2 separate regions of the Homo sapiens genome follow, and region 1 is linked to region 2. The links are contacts of gene promoters, found by promoter capture Hi-C in human tissues and cell types (Jung and others, 2019). All regions are on one chromosome and are shown on one strand. The core of a region is centred on a gene start or on the middle of the fragment in contact, and the rest is flanking DNA. Distances in the headings are between cores, read along the strand shown.

The links. The method cuts DNA at HindIII sites, captures the fragments that hold promoters and counts their contacts. A contact is called where the count stands out against the background at its distance.
Region 1: a contact is called between a fragment that was not itself captured here and the fragment with the promoter of TERF2IP in region 2, in 1 of the 25 tissues and cell types used here (dorsolateral prefrontal cortex).

The regions. Positions count from the first base shown.
Region 1 is chr16:74,656,113-74,663,414 of GRCh38, reverse strand. RFWD3 (ring finger and WD repeat domain 3) reads left to right here. Exons shown (of 13, transcript NM_018124.4): 2 at 1,964-2,483. The coding sequence starts at 1,966. Among named protein-coding and RNA genes, the nearest start is that of RFWD3, 7.1 kb to the left of the region's middle. The HindIII fragment of the contact is 6,343 bases long and covers 1-5,170 here.
Region 2 is chr16:75,643,386-75,649,691 of GRCh38, reverse strand. TERF2IP (TERF2 interacting protein) reads right to left here and starts at 1,919. Exons shown (of 3, transcript NM_018975.4): 1 at 1,140-1,919. The coding sequence starts at 1,809. It overlaps KARS1 (lysyl-tRNA synthetase 1), which reads left to right and starts at 2,027. Exons shown (of 14, transcript NM_005548.3): 1 at 2,027-2,114. The coding sequence starts at 2,053. RefSeq lists enhancers at 42-997, 795-1,064, 998-1,955, 1,995-2,174 and a silencer at 1,375-1,494. The HindIII fragment of the contact is 7,104 bases long and covers 1-5,989 here.

The sequences.
Region 1 (7,302 bases), core at 750-3,249, 990 kb after region 2:
GACACTCAATTGTTCCTTCCTTGAAACATTGTTTTTCCAAGACACCACATTCCCATGTTTCCTCCTACTTTATAATCTTCCTTAACTGGCTTCTTTTACTCTGTTGTACTTTTAACAGTAGTGTCTCTGACTTTAGTCTTCAGCCCTCTTCTGTCATTCTGTTCCTCAGGTGGTTTAATCTGCTTTGATGATTTTAAGAAACATGAGTATTGGCCGGGCGCGGTGGCTCATGCCTATAATCCGAGCACTTTGGGAGGCTGAGGCTGGCAGATCACCAGGTCAGGGGATCGAGACCATCCTGGCTAACACAGTGAAACCCCGGCTGTACTAAAAATACAAAAAATTAGCCAGGCGTGGTGGCAGGCACCTGTAATCCCAGCTACTCGGGAGGCTGAGGCAGGAGAATGGCGTGAACCCGGGAGGCGGAGCTTGCAGTGAGCCGAGATCGCGCCACTGCACTCCAGCCTGGGCAACAGAGCGAGACTCCATCTCAAAAAAAAAAAAAAAGAAGCATGACCATTCTGAAGATTCTTAAAGCTGTCTGTTTGTTTTCATCTCCACTGCTACCACTCTTGCCTAGGTCTCTCTGACCTCTGGTCTGGACTCCCACAATAGCCTCTACACTGGTCACCTAGCTTATGCTCTTGCACCCCTACAGTGCATTCCTAACATAGAAGAAACTCCTTACCAAGGCCCATAGGCCCTTTAATAATGGTGTCCTGTTCATCAGTGAAACCCATGCTCATCAGGGACCTATGCACTGATTTCCTTCTGAGACTCTTCTTGGCTCTTTGCATAGCCAGCTGCTTTTAATCCTTCATGCCTCAGCCCAATTTTCACTCTTTAAAAGAGTACTTCCCTCACAATTGTGTCTTAGTTGGTCCTCTTTGTCTCCTCAACCCCAAACATCATAATCTATAATTTTTTTCATGTATTTGTTTATTGACATCTTACTTGCTAGAATCTAAACTCTGATACATGGGGTCTTATCTGTTTTTGCCTCTAGGGTGTCTTGTCTGCATAACAGGTGCTTAATAACTATTAGTTGAACCCCCATTTCCTCATAAGTCAGATGAAAATAAAAGCACGTGCCTTACTTCACAAAGTAATTAAGGGGATAAGTTATACTGATGTACTTTAAAAACTAGGTGGTAGGGAGGCACAGTGGCTCAGTCCTGTTGTCCTGATGCATGAGGAGGTAAGGCCAGGCATTCAAGACCAGTTTGGGCAACATAGGAAGCCTTCATCTATATAACAAAAAAAAATTTTTTTTTTTAGTTTAAAAACTAGGTGGTAGTTTTCAAACTGATACAATGGAATTAAAGATAGGAAACATGAAAAGAACATAGGTGCTTAATAAATATTTGTTGAATACGCTAACATGATGGAATTAGAGATGGAAAACAAAAATAATGAAAGGGATAGGATAAAGTTTGCTCAGCCTTTTTGGAAACATTAGGTAAGTTTCCATTTTGAGTTAGTAACAGTTAATTTTGCAAGTGTAAAAAATGTCCTTTCTCTATTTATCCCTTGTAACTGTTGATGCTGTGAAAGATTAATATTGCCTGCTAAAATTAGATACTGCATTATATGCATTTGATTTTGGTGAATGTCCATATTCAGCTTGAGAGAACTGCAAAGTGTCTGAGAGATTACTTTTAGACCCAGTAGTTTAATCTCCTTGGTTTATAGATCTTTCTATTTTGGAAGATACTACTATGATCACAGGACTTCATGTTTTCTAAGGGCAAACCGGAAAACTGGTTATAAATGCTTGTTATAGAGAGGAAAGTCCATTACCAAACACTTCTGACTTAAGTAGTTAAAATCTTCTCTTGAAGCTTCTCAGTCTTGCTAAGAATGATATTAAACATAAAATCAGAAAGATTAAATATGATTCTGTCACCTACATAGCATGTTTTATCTATTTTATTAATACTTTTTACAAATACTGTTTCTCTAGTGATGGCTCATGAAGCAATGGAATATGATGTTCAGGTGCAGTTAAATCATGCCGAACAACAGCCAGCTCCTGCTGGCATGGCCAGCAGCCAAGGGGGACCAGCCCTCCTCCAGCCTGTTCCTGCTGATGTGGTCAGCAGCCAGGGGGTACCATCCATCCTCCAGCCAGCTCCTGCTGAGGTGATCAGCAGCCAAGCGACACCACCCCTGCTCCAGCCTGCTCCGCAACTGTCTGTTGACCTGACAGAAGTGGAGGTCTTGGGAGAAGACACTGTGGAGAACATCAATCCAAGAACTTCAGAACAACATAGGCAGGGATCTGATGGTAATCACACCATCCCAGCATCTTCGTTGCATTCAATGACCAACTTCATCAGCGGACTGCAGAGACTTCATGGCATGCTGGAATTCCTGAGACCTTCATCTTCAAACCACAGTGTAGGGCCAATGAGAACAAGAAGGAGGGTATCTGCTTCACGGAGGGCAAGAGCCGGAGGGTCTCAGAGGACAGACAGTGCCAGGTAAATAAATATATGGATAAGTCTGTGATCATTGCTGTACTAGAAATTATGAAACTGAGGCTCTGCCATTCAAGGACTGACAGTGTGACTTTTGGCAAGTCAGGTAACTTCTGACCCCCAGTTCCTCATAGGTGGAAATAAAAGTGCTTGCCTTACTTCACAAAGTAATGAAGGGATAAGTTAAACTGTTGTGCCTTGAAAACTAGGTGGTAGTTTGTTGGCAATCTCTGTAGAGATTGGCTGTTGTTCAGATTGTGTCTTGTACACCAAAAATTCTTTCTTCACTTGCAAGTCTCTACTCACCCAAATTCATTATTCACTGGCATTCCACCTGGGGGCACAATTAATTAATTTTCTTTCATAGTCTTGGTTTGAACTTGCCTCTTGAAGGGCTTAGCTGTCAAGTCTTGACAGGGTTATTATGAAGAATAACAATTGCCTATACCCTGTCCGTTTTTTGGTTTTTTGTTTTTGTTTTTGAGACAGCGTCTCACTCTGTCGTCCAGGCTGGATTCCCGTGGCACAATCTTTGCTCACTGCAACCTCCATCTCCCAGATTCAAGCGATTCTCCTGCCTCAGCTTCCCCAGTACCTGGCATTACAGGCGCGTGCCACCACACCTAACTAATTAAACCTGTCTGTTTTTGGTTTTGTTTTGTTTTGAGATGGAGTCTCACTCTGTCGCCCAGGCTGGAGCGCAGTGGTGCGATCTCCGCTCAGAGAGGGCTTTGTTCAGGGTCTCATAACTATAGAATAGAGGAGTTAGCACTGATATTGGAGCCTGGATCTGCCCTGTTTTCTACATAGGCAGATGGAGGAAGCTTCGACGAAATCCCTTTGTTTTCTCTTTCTTCTTGTTTTTATTATTGTTATTTTTGAGACAGGGTCTCACTGTGCTCCCCAGGCTGGAGTGCAGTGGTGCAATCACAGCTCACTGCAGCCTCGACCTCCCCAGGCTTAGGCGATCTTCCTACCTCAGCCTCTTGATGATTAACTGGGACTACAGGCATACGCAACCATGCCGATGTTTTCTAACACTGTGAAAATATTGAGATGATACTAAAAAGTGGTAGCTAGGTCATCTATTACCCATGTTTTACAAATGAGGAAGCTGATGGGATAATTTGTGATTTGGTTGTGATAAGGCTGGAATTGGAATTGTGCCTTCTGTATCTGGATTCAGCATTCTTTTTCATGGATCCTGCTGATTTTAATGTTGGGGCTTGCCATGACTGTGGCTCCAGTGTCTGTAGTGCCCATCAAGGATGACAGATGCCTAGTTCTGTGTTGACAAGAGTTGCAAATGCATATTACTCTGGGTTTTTTTTTTGTTTTTAAGACAAGAGTCTTGCTCTGTCACTCAGGCTGGAGTGCAGTGGCGCAGTATCAGCTCACCAGGACCTCTGGCTCCCGGGTTCAAGCGATTCTTGTGCCTCAGCCTCCTAAGTAGCTGGGATTGCAGGCGTGCACCAGCAGGCTTGGCTATAGTCTGTTGTTTTAAGATGTCATTACTCACGTTATAAAGGCAGGGTAAGATTTCATACATTTGTGTTATAGGTGAAGGCACCTTATGGTGTAATTTGGGGACCCTCCCAAAGTAAATGGGCTAACTTTCCATGGTTGAGAGTTGTGAGTGGTGTTTCCAGGAGCTGGCTGACTGTCAGGAGGCCTCTTGCAAGTCCTCAGTCTTGCTTATCCATGCACTCATTCTTGTTGGGGGACGCAGAGTGGATTCCTCTTGGTCAAGCACAGTGACTTGTATTAACCAACTTAAGGGTGACACTTATAAACCAGATGCCAACTTACAAAGAAAAACAGAACCACTAGAGAGCCAAACAGAAGCCAAACTCTAGTGAGAAAATTGCTTGATGTGGCTGGGCATAGTGGCTCACGCCTGTAATCTCAGAACTTTGAGCGGCCAAGGCAGGCGGATCCCTTTAGGCCAGGAGTTCGAGGCCAACATGGTGAAACCCCATCTCTACTAAAAATACAAAAAATTAGCCGGGCGTGGTGGCACACACCTGTGGTCCCAGCTACTTGGGAGGTTAAGGCATGAGAATTCCTTGAACCTAGGAGGCGGAGCTTGCAGTGAGCCAAGATCTTGTCACTGTAATCCAGCCTGGGTGACAAGAGTGACTCTCTGTCTCAAAAAAAAAAAAAAAAAATTATAGAATCTGCTCAGGGAATGAGTTATACAGAATTTAAATGTTGAAAGATGTCAGTCAAGCTATTTGGCAGCCATAATCTGTCTCCACAAAGGGAATAACCTAAACGGTCAGGAAGTGTGCAGTTCAGTGGAAATTACATCAGTTCTGGAGCCAGGTAAATGTGATTAAAACTTTTTTCCCTGAAGTATGACCTTTCCCAGGACTAATCGCTTATAACTTCTGAATTTCTTGAGATGAATTTCTCAGTGTGGTGTTTGACATTTACTCATCTGACAGACTGTCCCTGGGCCAGGTGTTGAAAGCCTGGGCCAAGGTGAACAGCTTTTGACTCACAGTCAGCCAAGAAGCCAAAGCTATGGAAAGCTAAGTAGTGAGCTTATTCTTCCCAACAGGCTTAGCTGAGGTCACAAACTCCTTTCTGATTTGTTTGGGGCGGTTTCATTCTGGCAGTGGGGGTCATCACTCATTCATCAAATATTGATAACACTCCTCTGTGTGAGAGACTAAACTTTGCCCTAGATATATTGGTGAATAACACAGATCACAATATTGTTTTCCTGGAGCATACGGAGTCTAGGACTACAGAGAGTAGGGAAGGAGCAAAATTCAAAGTTGGTAAGTGCAGGGAAGGAGGAGAATTTCTTGGGTTCTAAATCTGTGCTCCCAAAGAGAAACCCTAGCACTGCTTCCTGTTGGTTTTCACAGTTCCCCTTTCCTGTGTTCTTGCCTGACTTTGGAAATTCTTTGCTACATAAAAGCAATATTAAAGAGTGATTTTTTTTAATCGTCTATCACTTTTTTACTGGGTTCTATGTAGAATTCTATTGATATACGTGTCAACACCCTAACTCTAGTATGTATTTGATTAAATCTTCTTATGAAATGCTTTTCTTATGTGTTTAGTCTCATGGTAGCTATAGCTGCTGTTCACTTAGAATCTCAAGAAATGGAGTTGGTAAACTTGCTTAGCACTGTCTAAAAAGAAAACCTGGCTAGGCGCAGTGGCTCACACCTGTAATCGCAGCATTTTGGGAGGCTGAGGCAGGCGAATCACCTGAGGTCACGAGTTCGAGACCAGCCTGGCCAACATGGTGAAACCCTGTCTACTAAAAATACAAAAATTAGTCGGGTGTGGTGGCGGGTGCCCATAATCCCAGCTGCTCAGGAGACTGAGGCAGGAGAATCGCTTGAACCCGGGAGGTGGATGTTGCAGTGAGCCGAGATTGCGCCACTACACTCCAGCCTGGGCCGCAGAGCGAGACTCCGTCTCAAAAAAAAAAAAAAAGAAAAAGAAAACCTGGGTGATGTCAGTGAAAATGGCAGAGTAAGGACCACAGAGAATTATCTCCATGGAAGTAGTGAAACAACTGGCAGAATTTGTCAGGATCAACTTTTTCATAATTCAGGAAACTGACCAAATGCTTATAGCAATCCAGGGAGTGATTATTAAAGAAAAACAGCCGAATCTCATTGAGCTCTATGGCATTCCTTATTCTTGTCACCTTCTCCAGCTCCTTGATAGTTGTGAAAAGCATCTGCCTGTAATCATAGTAAAAACCAACAGCCTGGCAGGCACCAGAGGGATTGGAGCACCTTCAAAGCCTCATTCCCAGAGAATTATCTTTATATGACCTGTTGGTGGTTCTCTGGAAAACCCCATTTGCAAGACTACTCTTGACTCTGAGCAATGCAGAGTGTGAAAAGCCTAAATCATTTTCCCTGGGGCCTGCCTGAGGTAATGGATATTCAGTGGGATAAGCAATAAACTAACCAATAAGAAGGAAAGGAAAATCTAGGAATGAGATCAATTCAGTCACATCTTCTAAGTCTAGTTCTCTTGCTGTTTCTAGCACATCTGCAGTTACTTTCTTAACTGAAGTCTTGAGCCCGGCAAAAGTCATCCATAAGAGTTGACATCAACTTCTTCTAAATTCCTGATAATGTTGATATTTTGGCCTCCTCCCATGAATCATGAATGTTCTTAGGGGCATCAAGGATGGTGGATCCCCAAGGCACAGTGGCTCATGCCTATAATCCCAGCACTTTGGGGGGCTGAAGCAGGCAGATTGCCTGAGCTCAGGAGTTCAAGACCAACCTGGCCAACATGTTGAAACCTTGTCTCTACAAAAAAATACAAAAATTAGCTGGGCATGGTGTGCATGCCTGTAGTCCCAGCTACTTAGGAGGTTGGGGTGAAAGGTTCCAATGAGCCAATATCATGCCACTGCACTCCAGCCTGGGTGACAGAGCCAGACCCTGTCTCCAAAAAGAAAAAAAAAGAATGGTGGATCATTTCAAGGTTTTCAATTTACTTTGTCCAGATCCATTAGAGGAATCACTGGCAGCTATCATCTTAAGAAATTAAAAAAAATAAAATAAAAAAAGCTTTTCCCCACAGCTAAGAGTCACAACAAAATATTTCTTTTCTTTTCTTTTTTTTTTTTTTTTTTTTTTTGGCAAGACAAGGTCTCACTCTGTTGCCCAGGCTGGAGTACAGTGGTGTGATCATGGCTCACTGCAGCCTCAACCTCCCCGGGCTCAGGTGATCCTCGATCCTCCTGCCTCAGCCTACAGAGTAGCTGGGACTAAAGGCACAAGCCGCCACACCCAGCTAATTTTTTCTGTTTTTTGTAGAGATGTTATTTCATTAA
Region 2 (6,306 bases), core at 670-3,169:
TACGCCTTTATACTGAATCTACCTGAACATAACAGCAATCTTTTTTAAAAAGGAGTCTGTGGAATATCTCTTAAAAGAAACACAAGAAGCCAGTTAGCCCGTGGGTAGCTGGTGGACAGGAAGGACGAGATAATTTTTTTTTTTTTTTGAGATGGAGTCTTGCTCTGTCACCCACGCTGGAGAGCAGTGGCGCAGTCTCGGCTCACTGCAACCTCCGCCCCCCGGGTTCAAGCAATTCTCCTGCCTCAGCCTCCTGAGTAGCTGGGACTACAGGAACTCTCCGCCACGGCCGGCTAATTTTTGTATTTTTAGTAGGGGCGGCATTTCGCCATGTTGGTCAGGCTCGTCTCGATCTCCTTACCTCAGGTGATCCGCCCGCCTCGGCCTCCCAAAGTGCTGGGATTACAAGCTTGAGCCGCCGCGCCCGGCCAAGAGAGAATTTTCTATATACTTTTTGTAACTTTTGAATATAGAACCATGTCAATATTCTAGTCAATGGTAAAGTAAATTAAAACTAGACCAAGAAGCTGGGTGTGATGGCTCACGCCTGTAATCCCAACACTTTGGGACACCGAGACGGGAGGATCGCTTGAGCCCAAGAGTTCGAGACCTGTCAGGGCAACACAACGAGACCCCCATCTCTACAACAATTTTTTTTTTAATTTAGCGGGACGTGGTGGCGCGGGAGTGTAGTTCCAGCTACTTGGGAGGCTGAAGCCGGAGATTCGCTTGAGCCCAGGAGGTCCAGGATGCAGTAGGTCGTGATCGCGCGGCTGCATCACAGCCTGGGCGACGGAGCGAGCCCCCACTCAAAAATTAAAAAATAAAAACGACGAGAGGCCAGACGTGGTGGCTCACTCCTGTAATCCCAACACTTTGGGTGGCCGAGGCAGGAGGATCGCTTGAGCTCAGGAGTTCAGACCAGCTTAGGTAACAGAGACCCATCGCAAAAAAAGAACAATAATAAACAACAAGGGAGCGAGAAGGCAAGAAAATGGTGCAAATTTACCCGGATGTCAACAGGGGGCGGGGCCAAGCGCTGCTACCGAAGATGCCAAGATGGACGCCAGGCAGCCAGGAGAAAGATCCCAACCCCACCCGCGCAGATATCCGCGAGGCCCCGCGCTCAGCCTCCTCACCCCCGCTATCCGCGGCCTCCGGGTCCTCCTCCGCCTTCCGCTTGAGCTTCTGGGAGGAGGGGCTCACCGGCGCGTCCCCCAGCAGGTACTTATGCTCCTGGCCCCGCAGGTGCTTGAGGTAGCGGTCCTTCAGGGACTGCCACGAGTGCTGCGTGAGCGAGCTCTTCTCCATCGCTTTCCACAAGGCGTTACCGGTGACGGAGCTGGGCGAGCGGGCATTTTCCTTCACGTAGGTAAGGATGGCTACGTCGTCCGCATCCGTGAAGGCGATCCGCCCGGCGTGCCGCTGCGGCTCCGGCTCCGCGGCGCCCTCGGCCAGGGCCCCGGGCTTTGCTTCCGAGCCGGTGTCCGCCGCCGAGGCGGGGCCCAGCCGATAGGCCTCCAGCTCCAGCCTCTCGTTGCGCTCCACGCAGTCCAGGATGTACTGCGTGGAGATGAAATCACCCGAGGCCTCGGCCAGCGCCTCCCCGGGCTGGGCCAGCAGCACGGCCCCGGGCTCCTGCACTCGGCACACGGTGCCGCCGCCGTGCAGGATGAGCGTCGACAGCCGACGCTTGGCCGGGCTGGGCCGCACGTAGAAGGACATGGAGCTGCCGTCGTCCCTCACGAACAGAGTCGAGGAATGGGTGGGCCCGTTGGGGTCTTTGCCCAAATCCATCGCCTCCGCCATGTCTGACGCCGAGCACTACTAGAAGAGCTACCCCCTCGCGAGCGCCTGGCACACAGAGCTCAACTGACTGAGCTGTCACCGCAGACGCCTCTGCCGCGAAGCGCAGCACTGGGCCTGCGCAGCAGCAGCCGCGGCGCATCGAGAGTGCCCGCCCCCTCTCCCCCGGAAGAGGTGGGGCTTCGCACCTTGACCTGGAAATTAACGTACTATCCTCCTTACTTTTGGGTCGGGCCCTCCGGGAAGATGGCGGCCGTGCAGGCGGCCGAGGTGAAAGTGGATGGCAGCGAGCCGAAACTGAGCAAGAAGTGAGTGTCGCTGCGAGTCTTTAAAGCCTTTGCGGTAGGAGAGTCTGGGCTGGGAAGCGCCGCGAGGTTCCCACCAAGGCTGCTGTGCCGGGGCCTTCTTGCCGGCTCTCGTGGGTACGCACATGCTGAGACGTGGTGGCTGCGCCCTGCAGACCACGTACCCCGGGATACCCCGGGCACGCCGGCTCCCCGTTCCCAGCTGGCACCGGCGGGATGCTCCCTATCATACTCCTAGAGTTAAGAGACTGTGGAGGAGGAACTAGGACGAGAACTAAGAGTTATCAGAAAAGAAAAGCGAAACTTCCTGCTTAGCTTCATCCTCCTTTCTGAGAAATGCATTCTTTTGTTGAGCCACTCAGTAAACGTGGAAGTTGGAGAAATGTTAAATACCCTAGCTTTTCAGAAAGACCTTCAAAATTTTCTGGGCCTCACTAAGGTCATTCTGAACGTTATGTATTAAAAGGGATCAGTTCTAAAACTGTCATGCATCTACCCGTATGGGTTATTCAGTAGATACCTGTGAGTATTAAGTGATCAACGTCTAACAGTAGAGACCATCTTAATTCAGCCTGATATCTTTGTTAACCACTCCCAAATCCCTGGAGTATGTAGGTTAACATAGATAAGTCAGGATTAGCCACCCTTTAACTGGCTGTCTTATATTCTCATTAGCGTTCCCCATTTGAACCACAGAACACAGGTAATTGAGTGTTTTATCATTGCTAGGAAGATGGTACATAGTACCATTCCAGAGGCATACGAGAGGGCTTAATCCCCGTGGCGCGCACTTGTTATCCCAGCTACTCGGGAGACTGAGGCAGGAGAATCGCTTTAACCCAGGAGGCGGAGGTTGCAGTGTGCTGAAGTCGTGCCACTGCACTCCAGCCTGGGAGACTTGAGGTAGTGGTCCTTCAGGGACTGCCAGAAGTGCTGCGTGAGCGAGCCCTTCTCCATCGCTTTCCCCAAGGAGTTACTGAGACGGAGCCAGACCCTGAATGAAAAAGAAAAGAGAAATGATGTTTCTTTTTTTTTTTTTTTAAGATGGAGTCTCGCTCTGTCGCCAGGCTGGAGTGCAGTGGCGCGATCTCAGCTCACTGCAACCTTCGCTGCCAGGGTTCAAGCGATTCTCCTGCCTCAGCCTCCCGAGTAGCTGGGATTACAGGCGTGTGCCACCATGGCTGGCCAATTTTTGTATTTTTAGTAGAGACAGGGTTTCACCATGTTGGGCAGGATGGTCTCAATCTCGTTACCTTGTGATCCGCCCACCTTGGCCTCCCAAAGTGCTGGGATGACAGGCGTGAGCCTGAGCCACCACCCCTGGCCTGATGTTTCCTTTTGTGTCCCTGGCTTTGTGCTTCAAATATCTTAGAAAAAGTATAAGAGAAATTGTCGAAGTTTATAGTTGGGTAGGACCTTAATATATTGTCCTTTATTAGAGCAATCCGATGGACTTCCATAAAAGTTTGGAACCTGGTCTTTGGACTGCTACCTTAGAGAAAATTGACTTGACTTTATTAAGTCAAATTTAATTGAATGTGGTATATCTGTGATATACGATCCTAAAGTTTAGTTCATTCTTTCAAACCACCTATGATAATCAATTACATTGAATTGAACTTTAGGACTGTATATCACAGGTGAAAGCACGGTTTCCAGTTCAGAGTGTGTTTTTAGGTAAACGGAAAAAACTGGTTAATTCCTCTTTACTGACTTTTTTTTTTTTTTTTTTTTTTTGGAGGCAGAGTCGTTGTTGCCCCGGCTGGATTGCAGCGGTGCGATTTCAGCCCACGGCAACTTGCAACTCCCGGGTTCAAGCAATTCTGGTGCTTCAGCCTCCCAAGTACCTGGGACTACAGGTGCATGCCACAACACCCGGTTAAATTTTTGTGTTTTAGTAGAGACGGGATTTGACCTTGTTGCCCAGGCTGGCGTCAAACTGCTGAGCTCAGGTGATCCGTCCGCCTCAACCCCACAAAGCGCTAGGATTATAGGCGTGAGCCACCACTCCCTGCTTCACTGACTTTTCTAAAATTAAATACAGCTACTACTTTTTTGACCAGCTTTTCTGTGCCAGGCACAATGCTAGATCTCTACAAGCTTTCTGTCTAGTGTCAGTAATAACCTTGCAAGAGGAGTTATTGTCCATTTTTCAAATTAATAAACTGAGGTCCTAGTAATTAAATGCACTATTAAAGTGTGCATTCCTAAAATATAGTCTAGCAGTGATCCAGAGCACTGGAGCACGGATCTGAACTCAGGCCTGTGACTCCACAGTCCATGCTCTGTATCCTGACTGCACAGCACTACTCACGTTGTCTTACCTGTCATTGATGTCTATTCCTCTCGTTACCATGAGCTAAAATAATTTTTTTCTGATTAACATTTCCTTCCGTTTATTGTTCTGGGGAATTCCTTGGTCTGAAATTTTTAGTAAGCACCATTTTGTGCCAGGTATTGACTCCAAGTTTAAAAGCAGATGTGCTCCCTGCCCGAGTGAAATAGCCTCCTCAAATTTATTTGAACACGGTAAAGAAGGTGATCTCTGTAATTCTGTTGCCTTCCAGTGTTGATAATGTATAAACATAACGCAGTCTAAGGACCTTCCTGAAATTCTCCTTTCCCCTTGTTCCTAGAGTTCCAAACAAGTCTTCTCTTTGACACGTATTTTTGTGTGGCTTGCATTTATCTTTGTCTAGAGTTTGCAATTGATAGTGACAGTTTCCTCTTATTTTATATGCTTCCTATTGCCATCTTGTGGCCAGGTATTTCCTCTCCAGGTGAGAAACCACACTTCAGGGCTTCAGAAAGTGCCTCACATCCTGTTCCCATATTCTAGGATGTTGTGAGCAATTTTACCTGTAAGCTATCCATTAACTTGCTGTTGGCTTTACCCCAGATATGCATGTTTTTTCCATAGTCAGGACTAAGAACATTGTCAGTTACAGTTGTAGCACAGAGAGTGTTACAGGGTTGCTATCAGTTAAGACAGTCTTAAGTTAAATGGGACTAAAAGGTAGTAGAAGCATGGTCCCCCTCCCCAACCCATAAGAGAGTTGGTTGGGTATATGTATACTGTCTGTCCCATCTGACACCACATCTCTGTGTTTCCCGCTAGGTGGTGGTAATCATTAGTTCCAGGGTGCTCTGCCATGTTGACGCAAGCTGCTGTAAGGCTTGTTAGGGGGTCCCTGCGCAAAACCTCCTGGGCAGAGTGGGGTCACAGGGAACTGCGACTGGGTCAACTTGCTCCTTTCACAGCGCCTCACAAGGACAAGTCATTTTCTGATCAAAGAAGGTTGGTGCCCATTACCTTCTTTATTGCTCTGGAAGCAAAAATTATTTCCTTACTTGGTTCATTTTCCGTTAAGCCTCTGGCTAAGTCTTTGGACTTGTTGCTAAGGAAACAAGGAGCCCTAATACCAAAACCAATAGTCCTTTCTCATTTTCTCTTTAATAAATTCAAATCGTCTCTCCTTAGAGTCTTGAGATGACATGTGGATCTTATTCTAGAAGAGTGCTAAGAACAAAACCTTTGTTTGAACAAATAATTTCTAATGCCAGCTATTTCCCTTTTCTGTCTTTCTGGAGTTTTGTGTGCTCTTGAGATTAATTTGGTTTCTAGTCTTAGTGCTATCCCTAGGACCTTTTTGGATTATCCTTAAGATTGATTTGATTTAAGAGGAGCACCTGGTTGAGTGGAAAACAGATTTATCTTAATTCTAGAAGAACTAGACAGCCTAATCTTAGCAGTCCACTGACTGAATTATAGCATGATAACACCAGCACAGTGTTTTGGAAAGGTTGTCTTTACAAATGTTATAAGACATTATATGTAGAAAAAGCTGTCAACTTTGAAACCATTCAGAATCTGTTTTTCTTTTTTACAAGATGAAAGATTCGGCCAGGCGTGGTGGCTCACGCCTGTAATCCCAGCACTTTGGGAGGCCAAGACAGGCAGATCACGAGGTCAGGAGATCAAGACCATCCTGGCTAACACGGTGAAACCCCATCTTCACTAAAAATACCAAAAAAATTAGCCGGGCATGGTGGCGGGCACCTGTAGTCCCAGCTACTCCGGAGGCTGAGGCAGGAAAATGGTGTGAACCCGGGAGGCAGAGCTTACAGTGATCTGAGATCGCACCACTGCACTCCAGCCTGGGCAACACAGCGAGACTCTGTCTCAAAAAAAAAA